Linked DNA regions of Homo sapiens: region 1 is linked to region 2. Evidence: promoter capture Hi-C in human tissues and cell types (Jung and others, 2019). All regions are on one chromosome and are shown on one strand. Each heading gives the region's core, a stretch centred on a gene start or on the middle of the fragment in contact. The rest is flanking DNA. Distances are from core to core; before and after follow the strand shown. Region 1 has its middle 16 kb from the start of MIR8059. Region 2 holds the start of ABCC3 (ATP binding cassette subfamily C member 3).

What was found. Contacts are between HindIII fragments. The study calls those that stand out against the background at their distance.
Region 1: a fragment that was not itself captured here is called in contact with the fragment with the promoter of ABCC3 in region 2 in 1 of the 25 tissues and cell types used here (mesendoderm cells).

Annotation. Positions count from the first base shown.
Region 1 is chr17:50,781,179-50,787,364 of GRCh38, forward strand. No RefSeq gene overlaps it. Among named protein-coding and RNA genes, the nearest start is that of MIR8059, 16 kb to the left of the region's middle. The HindIII fragment of the contact is 7,282 bases long and covers 1-4,945 here.
Region 2 is chr17:50,632,690-50,636,130 of GRCh38, forward strand. ABCC3 (ATP binding cassette subfamily C member 3) reads left to right here and starts at 2,192. Exons shown (of 31, transcript NM_003786.4): 1 at 2,192-2,292. The coding sequence starts at 2,248. RefSeq lists a silencer at 2,162-2,211. The HindIII fragment of the contact is 6,790 bases long and covers 1-3,441 here.

The DNA of each region.
Region 1 (6,186 bases), core at 55-2,554, 150 kb after region 2:
ACGGAAACCCAGTTCTTGGGCAAAAGATAAGGAAGCGAAGGGCCTCACTGGAAATCTCCTGGCTTCTGGGTGTCCAGGGTGGCTGTCCCAGGCAGGCGACGGTCTTCTTGGCGGCCAGGCTGCGTATGCGTCACGAGGAAGCCTCCAGATGGAGCGCGGCCGCCAAGGCGCAGTAGCAGGGCGACGACGCTCCGAGAGGTCCCCATCGTCAGACCCCTCTGGCTTCCATGGCGCGTCTTCAAACCCGGCCGATCCCGGCGAGTGTGGCGGCCGCGCAGCGCAGTGGCGAATTCGATCTTCTGGGTCTCCGGGTGGTTCCCACTGGGGCTCTCGCGCCGTCTCTCTGGAGCCAAAGGCCCCCCTCACACGGCTTTCGCCAGTGCATCGCTTTTCCCAGCGGAAGTTCACAGAGACAGGGGGATTGAGAAGGTCTATTTTTTATTTGTCTTTTAAACTGTAGCTATACCAGTGAGTGTGAAGTGGTATCTTATTTTGGTTTTGATTTGCATTTCCCTAATGACTAGTGATGTTGAACATCTCTTCTTGTGTTTATTGGCCATTTGCATGTCTTCTTTAGAGAAACATCTATTCAAATCATTTGCCTATTTTATTTTATTTTATTTTATTTTATTTTATTTTATTTTATTTTATTTTATTTGAGACGGAGTCTCACTCTGTCGCCCAGGCTGAAGCGCAGTGATGTGATCTTGGCTCACTGCAACCTCCGCCTTCCGGGCTGAAGTGATCCTCCCGCTTCAGCCTCTCGAATAGCTGGGATTACAGGCTCGTGCCACTGTGTCAGGCTAATTTTTGTATTTTTAGTAGAGATGGGGTTTCACCATGTTGGCCAGGCTGTCTAGGACTCCTGACGTCAAGTGTTCTGCCTGCCTTGACCTCCCAAAGTGCTGGGATTACAGGCATGAGCCACCGAGCCTGGCCTTTGCCTATTTTAAAATTGGGTTGTCTTCTTATTGAGTTGTAAGAGCCTTTTTACATATTCTGGTTACAAGTCCCTGATCAGGTATATGATTTATGAATATTTTCTCCCATTCTGTGGATTGTCTCTTCACTTTCTTGATGTGCACTTTTTTTTTTTTTTTTTTTTTTTTTTTTGAGACAGAGTCTCGCTCTGTTGCCCAGGCTGGAGTGCAGTGGCTCCATCTCGGCTCACTGCAAGCTCCGCCTCCCGGGTTCACGCCATTCTCCTGCCTCAGCCTCCCAGGTAGCTGGGACTACAGGCACCTGCCACCACTCCCGGCTAATTTTTTGTATTTTTAGTAGAGACCGGGTTTCACCGTGTTAGCCAGGATGGTCTTGATCTCCTGACCTCGTGACGCCCGCCTTGGCCTCCCAAAGTGCTGGGATTACAGGCGTGAGCCACCGCGCCCGGCCTATGTGTTTTACATTATGTTACTTGGTGCACGTTTTATTTTCTGGGGTCTTTCCCTTTTAGCAGTACAAAGAGATCCGTCGTGTTTCATATAATTTTTTGAGCTTCATGTCATGACCTTGGTTTTCTTTTGGTTCGCATGTGCCTGGATATCTTTGCCCTTTTTTTTTTTTTTTTTTTTTTTTTTTTTTTTTTTGCGATGGAGTCTTGGTCTGTCGCCCAGGCTGGAGCGCAGTGGTGGGAACTTGGCTCACTGCAACCTCTGCCTTCCGGGTTCAAGCGATTCTCCTGCCTCAGCCTCCCAGGTAGCTGGGATTACAGGCATGTGCCATGATGCCCCACTAATTTGTTTGCATTTTTAGTAGAGATGGGGTTTCACCATGCTGGCCAGGCTGGTCTCGAACTCCTGACCTCAAGTGATCTGCCCACCTCGGCCTCCCAAAGTGCTGGGATTACAGACATGAGCCACCGCGCCCAGCGGGCCCGTTTTAAAAGTCGATATCATTTCCCACCTGTATCTTGTGAGCATAGTCAACGCTCAGTGAAGGTCAGCTTCCTTCCTCTTGCCTGTCCTCATGAAATGCCCCTTCCCATACCGCCCCCGCGCCCCAGGAGTAGCCTTTGCTGTCCCAGGACTGAGCTCCAACATGGGAGCCCCTCTCAATACCTCCTCTTGAGCCTGCCCCTTTCCTTCCCTGCCATTCCCATGCAAGGCCACTGGGCAGGGCAGGTCCGCACCACCGAGTTGCCATTCTCCGTGTGTCCACCAGGGGCCGCCCCACTCCTGCCTGAGCTTCCTCCAAGAACCTGCATTTTTAATTCAGTCCCTCCCTGGTCTCCCATCTCTCCCAGCACCACCTTTGGGTGTAAAGCCGCAGAGCAGTATTCCTGGTTATCCAAGGAGTCCATAAACTGTCCTGTGGGAAATCAGCCCAATGCACCCTGGCTCCCTCATTCAGCAACTGTGTTGTAGTTTTCTTGTCTGCAAAAAGAAAATAATAATTTCCACCTCACTTAGAAAGAATATGTAGGCTGGGCATGGTGGCTCATGCCTGTAATCCCAGCAATTTGGGAGACCAAGGCGGGCGGATCACTTGAGGCCAGCAGTTTGAGACCAGCCTGGGCAACATGGCGAAACACCGTCTCTAGTGAAAATACAAAAATTAGCCAGGCGTTGTGACACATACCTATGATCCCAGTTACTCCAGAGGCTGAGCTTGCAGTGAGCTGAGACCGCACCACTGCACTCCAACCTGGGCAACCAAGTGAGACCCTGTCTCAAAAACAAAACAAAACAAACAAAAACAGAAAGAAATAATATATAGTTCGGGAGCCTGAGGCACGAGAATCACCTGAACCTGGGAGATGGAGGTTGCAGTGAGCTGAGATGGCACCACTGCACTCCAGCCTGGGCAACAGAGTGAGACTGTCCAAAAAGAAAAAGAAAAAGAAAAGAAAAGAAAAAAGAAAAATAAATAATATATAGTGTTCAGCAATGTGCCTGGTATACAGTAGGTGCCTAATAAAAGCAAGTCACTTTACAAGAGTTCAAAGTCCGTCCCTCCACAACTCTCCCTAAAGCTCTCCAGGCCTGTCTGTTTTCTTAGGTAATGGGTTGGCACCCAGGTTACATGGGGGTGAGATCTCCTTGTAGGGGCACAAGCTTCATGGGTTACAAAGTCAGAAGTGTGAATGTTTCTATTTTCTATAATTGACTTGGATTTCCACCTCCATTTCCCATGTTGCACGATGTGGAAACATTTTTATTACAGAATTCAGGGTTTCCTCAGTCAATTCTTTTTTTTCTGCGACGGAGTCTTGCTCTGTCACCCAGGCTGGAATGCAGTGGTGCGATCTCTGCTCACTGCAACCTCTGCCTCCTGGGATCAAGTGATTCTCCTGCCTCAGCCTCCCGAGTAGCTGGGATTACAGGCATGTGTCACCATACCTGGCTAATTTTTGTATTCTTAGTAGAGACATGGTTTCACCATGTTGGCCAGGCTCGATTCCAACTCTTGACCTTGTGATCCACCCGCCTTGGCCTCCCAAAGTGCTGGGACTACAGGTGTGAGCTACCACGCCTGGCCTCTTCAGTCAATTCTAAGTTTTTGCCTCCCCCTTTGCCCTGGGGTCCCAGCTAATGGTGTCAGCAGGGAGAGGGCTCTGATCTTGGTCGTTCTCGTTTTCTCTGCTGGTATCTGTAAAGATGGTCTCTGGCCCTATCGGGCATCATTTGCTGATTTCCGTTCTCACTGGATTCATTACTGCCCGTGTCCATCCCATCAGCATTCACCATGAGGGCCCGCGGCCCACCTGGCCTCCTTGTTATACCATCCTGATCCTGAGCTTCATGTGGTCCCAGAACCCTCTCTCAGCCACTTCAATGGGAAACTGTGGGGAGGGGTTTGTCTCAGGCCCTCTCTGCCCAGACAAGCCACAGCAGCATGTCTCCTTACGTGTAGAGACATGAGGGTGTTCTGGGAGATGGTACCTCAGTGCCTTCACCAGGAAGTGCCTTCACCACTGCGCCCCTCTACTCCCTGAGCTCTGCAGTGCCCCTACTGCAGCCCAGACAACAGGGCTGGAGTGGGGAGGAGAGAGCCATCGTGTGATCAGTGTTTTTACTGAGGCAAGGACCTCAACTTTGAAGCTAGTATCCAAGACCTAGCTCCACTGGCTTCTCTTCATTTCTTCTGAAACATTCCTGCCCCAAGGACATCCTTGCTGCCACCTGCATTGGGGCGGGGCGGTATGACATGCTAGAGAAAGAAGCCTGGTTAACATTTCCTAATCTAGCTTGGCACATCTTTTGCCCTGTTTTCAGGGTACTCCTAGTACAGACTGACACATGCCCGCCCCATAGCACCCTAGGGAAGTTTATGCTCCCAGTAATGAGTAGGGCAGAGCCAAGGTGGTGGATGAGGTTTTCTGAGGGTTGGTACTCAGCCCCTTCTGGGAGGGGAGACGATCCTGGTTGTAAACAATAGAAAACAACCCTGGTTAACTATAGCCCAAAAATAATTTTCTGGAATGATGATGGATGGTTCATAGAGTCACAGGGTAAACTGGAACCAGCCTGACAAATTGGGCAGGAACCCAGAAGGCTGGGAGGCAGAATCACAGGGAGGGTCTTATGAGGACAATCATGCCAACCTCACAACCATCACTGCCCTTTGATGGTGGCAGCTGGGACCCCAACATTAGAGGAGTGACACCTCAATGGTCCCAGCTTCTCAATAACCCTCAGTCAGTGTCAAAGTCCTAGGCAGGATGAACCAAGGCTGAGTTCCCAAGCACCCCCTGCAGGAATTGGATCTTTGGCCCCCTTAGGCTTCCATAGGGGGAACACTGCCTCCAGCCCATCTTGAGATTTGTATCCTCCCCTCTCGATTGGTATTTGGATGACAAGCAACTAAAATCAGCAAATGCACACATCTCTCTAATTTCCCTGAATGTGCATTTGCCAAGAGGCAGTTTCAAACCTGCCTCATTTGAGCAGTCTACTCAGAGTGCTGTTTGTTTATGCCACTCGGAGAGCTTGCCAAATACAGTGAAGTCATCTGAACAGCCTGAGCGCTTCCAGATAAATACATTGGCCTCCTTTCCATGGCCCCCATAGTAGCTAACATGTACTGAACAGTGGGCCAGGCACTGAGCTCAGCGCTCTACCTGGAGGATTGCCTTGGGCCTTACTGCCATTTTTCCAAGGAAGAGACTGAGGCCCAGTGGTTTACTAGCTTTCCCCAGTTCACACAGGTCTAGATGGGAATAACAGGGACTTGACCCCACACAGCCTGTCGGGCCCTGCTCCCTGGTGATCTAATGGAGCAGACGTTAAACCAATAACCACAGGATTACGTACGTGATTAAAAGGAGCACTGGAAAGGGAAAGAACAGGGTAGGAGGAGGGAGGATGGCAGAGAAGACAATTCATAGGGGTGGGGTGGGTGGGGGTCCCGGGAAGGCCTCTGGAAGAACATTTAAGCTGTGACCCAAATGATGGATTTAGCCAGGCCAAGAGCGAGGGGAAAGAGGCAGTGGCAAGTACCGAGACCTCTGAGGCAGGAGAGAGGGGAATGTGTTCGGGGGATGAAAACAAGGGCCAATGCAGCGGGAGCAGAGGGAGCTGGGGATTTCTGGGTGGGGCCATCAGGCAGGGCCAGGCTGAGCCTTGGTGTTCTTCAGCTCAGAACCCCTCACCTCCTCTCACTGACCCCCACCCCATCCTCTGAGATCCGACCTCACAGCATAGTCAGATCCAACCTCTTCTCCCCACCTCCGCTGCGGCCACCCTAGTCTGATTATTGCAATATCCCCTCCCATTCCCACTGGTCTCCCTGCTTCTGCACCGCCCCCATATCTCTTCTTTCTCAGCAATAAAGTGATCCTTTTAGCATGGAAGTCAGAGCTTGCCAGGCCTCTGCTTCTCATTTTGCTTAGAGTAAGTGCCTAAGTCTTGCAATGGTCTACAAAGCCCTCCACAGTCTGGATCCCAGGAGCTCCTGCAACGTGGTCCCCTCTCTCACTTGGCTGTAGCCCCACTGGCCCTGTGCTCCTTCTCAAGTACACCAGGCAAGCCCCTATCTGGAAGGAGGGCCTTTGCACTGCCCGTTCCCTTGGCCCGGAATGTTCTTTCCTCACATATCCATGGGTCTCTCATCCTTCAGCAGGCCTGCCCGGGCATGTTCTCATAGTGGAGCTCAGGGCAAGAACAGATGGAGATGCTAAGCCCTCTTCTGCCTGCCTCCGGTCTGCTAACATCCTGCTGGCCACAGCAAGCACGTGGCTGAGCCCAG
Region 2 (3,441 bases), core at 942-3,441:
GGGGCTGCAAGGGATGGTGCTTCAGCTCCGATGCTGAAGCCAGAACCCAAGGGTCCTAGCCCAAAACTAGAGCTCCAGCCAGTGCACTGCCTGGCCAACTGTGGGGCTGGAAAGTCCCGGACGGAAGCTCAGGCTAGTTCTGGGCTCTCCATCTCAGAAAGGAGGTCTGATTGGGGAGCTCACCTCCCAAAGGGCCCTAAAGGAAAGTCCCCAGGTCTCCTCAAGCCCAGAGCAATCTGGTGCCTATGACCCCACAAGCCCTAGAAAAGGAATGGGAGAGGAGGGAGAGTTGGAGGAAGCCGGTGGGTAGACAAGGTCAAAACACAGGGGCAGTGGGTGCTGATGAAGCCATGACCAGGGTCATGGAAGGGGTGGAGGAAGGTTCCCAGCTGCCTAGGCCATAGAAGCCTGGCCCACCAGGGCTGGAAGAGAGCTTAGATATCACCCTGTCCACGTTTCTCAAGAAATGAAGTCCCAGAGGCATCAAGGAGCTTATTGAGATCACACAGTGTATAAAAGGTATGGAGGGGGATTGGAGGGGACTGAGTTAGTCCCTGCCCTTGGGGACCTCTCAGATTAGCAGGGAAGACAGACTCTTCATAACTAAATATAATCCAAGGCACGCCGTAACAAGGTGTAAAGCTCTGTAAAGTATTTTGCCCAGAGATGAAGGTAGGGGGACAGGAGAGGGAGGGTATGTGTGGATGAGTGGAAAGGAAGAGGGCAGACAAAGAAGGGGCTGAAAGAACTTGCCCAGTGGAGGGGTAGAAGTCCCTGGTCTGACTGCCTGGGAAAGGGGAATCTTCTCCACTCCCACCCCTATCCCATGCCCAGCCAGATCTTGGTTCTGATAGCCTATAGCCAAGGAGACTTCCCTTCTAGTGACCTCCTGGCTGCCCAGAGAGATAGGAGGTGGCTTGCCCCTTCTGCACTCTTACTGGCTCCCACCCACACCTGCCGCTGAGCAGCCAAGGAAGGAAACACCTTCTCTTGAGAACAAGGGCCAGAAAAGGGGTCACCGGGGTGAAACTGGACAGACCTGTGGGCAAAGGCAGGGAAGAGAAGGGCCAGGGAAAGATTTGCCAGGGAGAATTCCTTCTGAGCCCCAACAAGCGGTGCTGAGTTGGCGTCTGGGATTGTGTTAAGGAAGACAGGGCAACAGCGGGATTGAGAGATGGAGGGATCCCCGCATCTGAGGGGATACCGGGAGAAGGAGAGCTGAGGCAAGCAGGAGAAGGAGAGCACTGACAAGCCCATTTTACAGATCAGGAATGTAGAGTTTCAGCCTTAGGAGGAGGACGAGGACGAGGACACTCACGTGGGGCTCCTCCTGGGGCTTCACCTGTCCTTCCCCCCCCAACCCTGATCAGGCTGAAGCAGAGGGAATTCACACATGTTGGGTGCCCACTAAGTGTGCCAGGAAATACGCTTTGCCTACCCTTTCCATTCAATCCTCAGAGAACCCTGGGAGGAAGATTCTCTTCTATGATTGTCTCTATTTTACGGATGTGAAAGTAGAGGCCCAGAGACGTGCCGAGGTGATGTGGCAAGGTCAGGGAGCCACAGAGCCTAAGAGGGCAGCAGTTTAAGAGGACATAAGAGGCCCCCGCTGGACGATGCTGCGGCCCCCACCCCCGCCTCACGGGTACACACCCGCGGAGCACACCCCGTGTGCTCCCCGTGTGGCGCCTGCCAGTGGTCTCTGGAACCTGATGGGGAAGAGGTCAGCTTCCTGATTGAGCACAGAAGCCCTTCCCATTTTACAGATGAGGAAACTGACCTCCGGAGAGGAACGTGACCTTCTCAAAGATTCCTTTTTTACTAGGAAAGATTGTTAAATCCCTCTCCCTACGTCCCCTACTCAATGACTCATCGGCCCCACGGACTTGTTCGGGAGTGGGAGCGCCTGTGTATCCCAGTTCCCCCTTGGAAATAGACTCGACTCCTGGACTGTTAGCCTCGGTATTTAGAGAGACATCCCCCTGGCTTGGCCCAGGGGCCGCTCGCAGGGGCTGTCGCCGTGCCAAGGGCCCCCCCACCTCTGCCCCAAAGTCCCTCCCAGGGAGGCGCTGTCGCAACCCGCGGGACGGGGGCAGGGAGACCGGACCCAGAGGCACTGGGGTAGGGCTCGGCAGGGCGGGTCCGGGCGGAGCGCGGGGTGCGGAGGGCGGAGGCGGCTCCGGCGCCCGCTCTGCCCGCCGCTGGGTCCGACCGCGCTCGCCTTCCTTGCAGCCGCGCCTCGGCCCCATGGACGCCCTGTGCGGTTCCGGGGAGCTCGGCTCCAAGTTCTGGGTAAGGCGCGGGGCTCCGGGGTCACTGCGCGGGGGCCAGGGTCGGCCGGCTTCGCCCGGTCCCCGCCGCCTGCCTTCCCGCGGGGCCGGCAGGTATCCCGGGACGGAGCCCCTGAGACGGCCTGGGCGCCCGGGAGGGGGCGATGGGCTCGGGAGGGAGGTTGGCTGCGCCGCCCGGAGCCGGGTCCCACGCGGTGTCGGGGACCTGCCCTGCTCTGCCCTTCCCGGCTGCAGCACTGGGGAGCCCGGGAAAGTGAGGAAGAGTGCGCGGCTGGGGCGCAAAGGCACAGTGCGTGGCTGGGTGAGTCGGCTCCATCCCAGCCCCTCCGTCGGGTGCGGAAGGGGCGTTTCGCAATCAGCCGCGGGTTCCTGATGGAGGGTCTTCCCTCAGCATCTGCCTCAGGTTAGGACTCGGTTGCCCACCTGGGCATGGATTGCCCCCAGGGCATCCAGAGCACCTGCTCAACCAGGTGTTTTGGGAGGCCGGCTGTGCAGTGTCCCACCCTTCTTAGGAAGGTTTCCTGCCACCTTCTTTTCTCTAGGTAAGACTGAGGTCTGAGAGCAGGCCATCCCCACCACTCCGGACTCAGAAGGGAGAAGCAGACCCCAGTCTGGAGACAGGTGCAGGGTGTCAGGATTCCTGTAGTCCAACTCCCTTCTCACAGATGGAGAAAGGGAGGCCCAGAGAGAGGAAGGGACTTGCCCAAAGTTACCCAGTTCAATGAAGGCAGAGCTGGGATAGAAAAACAGGCTACAGGCCAGGTGCAGTGGTTCACGCCTGTAATCCCACCCTTTGGGAGGCAGAGGTGGGAGGATCACTTCAGCCCAGGAGTTTTAGATTACTGTGAGCTATGATCGCACCACTGCACTGTGGCCTGGGCGAAAGAGTGAGACCCTGTCTCTAAAAAAATAAATAAATAAGAAAAGAAAATCAAGCCTTTGGTGACTCTCACTCCAAATCTCTTTCTAAGACAGGCTGCTCTTCAGCCTGCTGACTCCAGCCTCCAGCACAGTTCAGGTGAGCTAAGTGCATACAGCCTAGGAGCTTTCTTACCAACTTGCAAAACTTACTTGCCTCTATGAGGCAAGTGATCATGTGGTCTCCGTTTTACAGAGGGAGCTCAGATTAAAGGTGCTTCTCTGTGGTCAT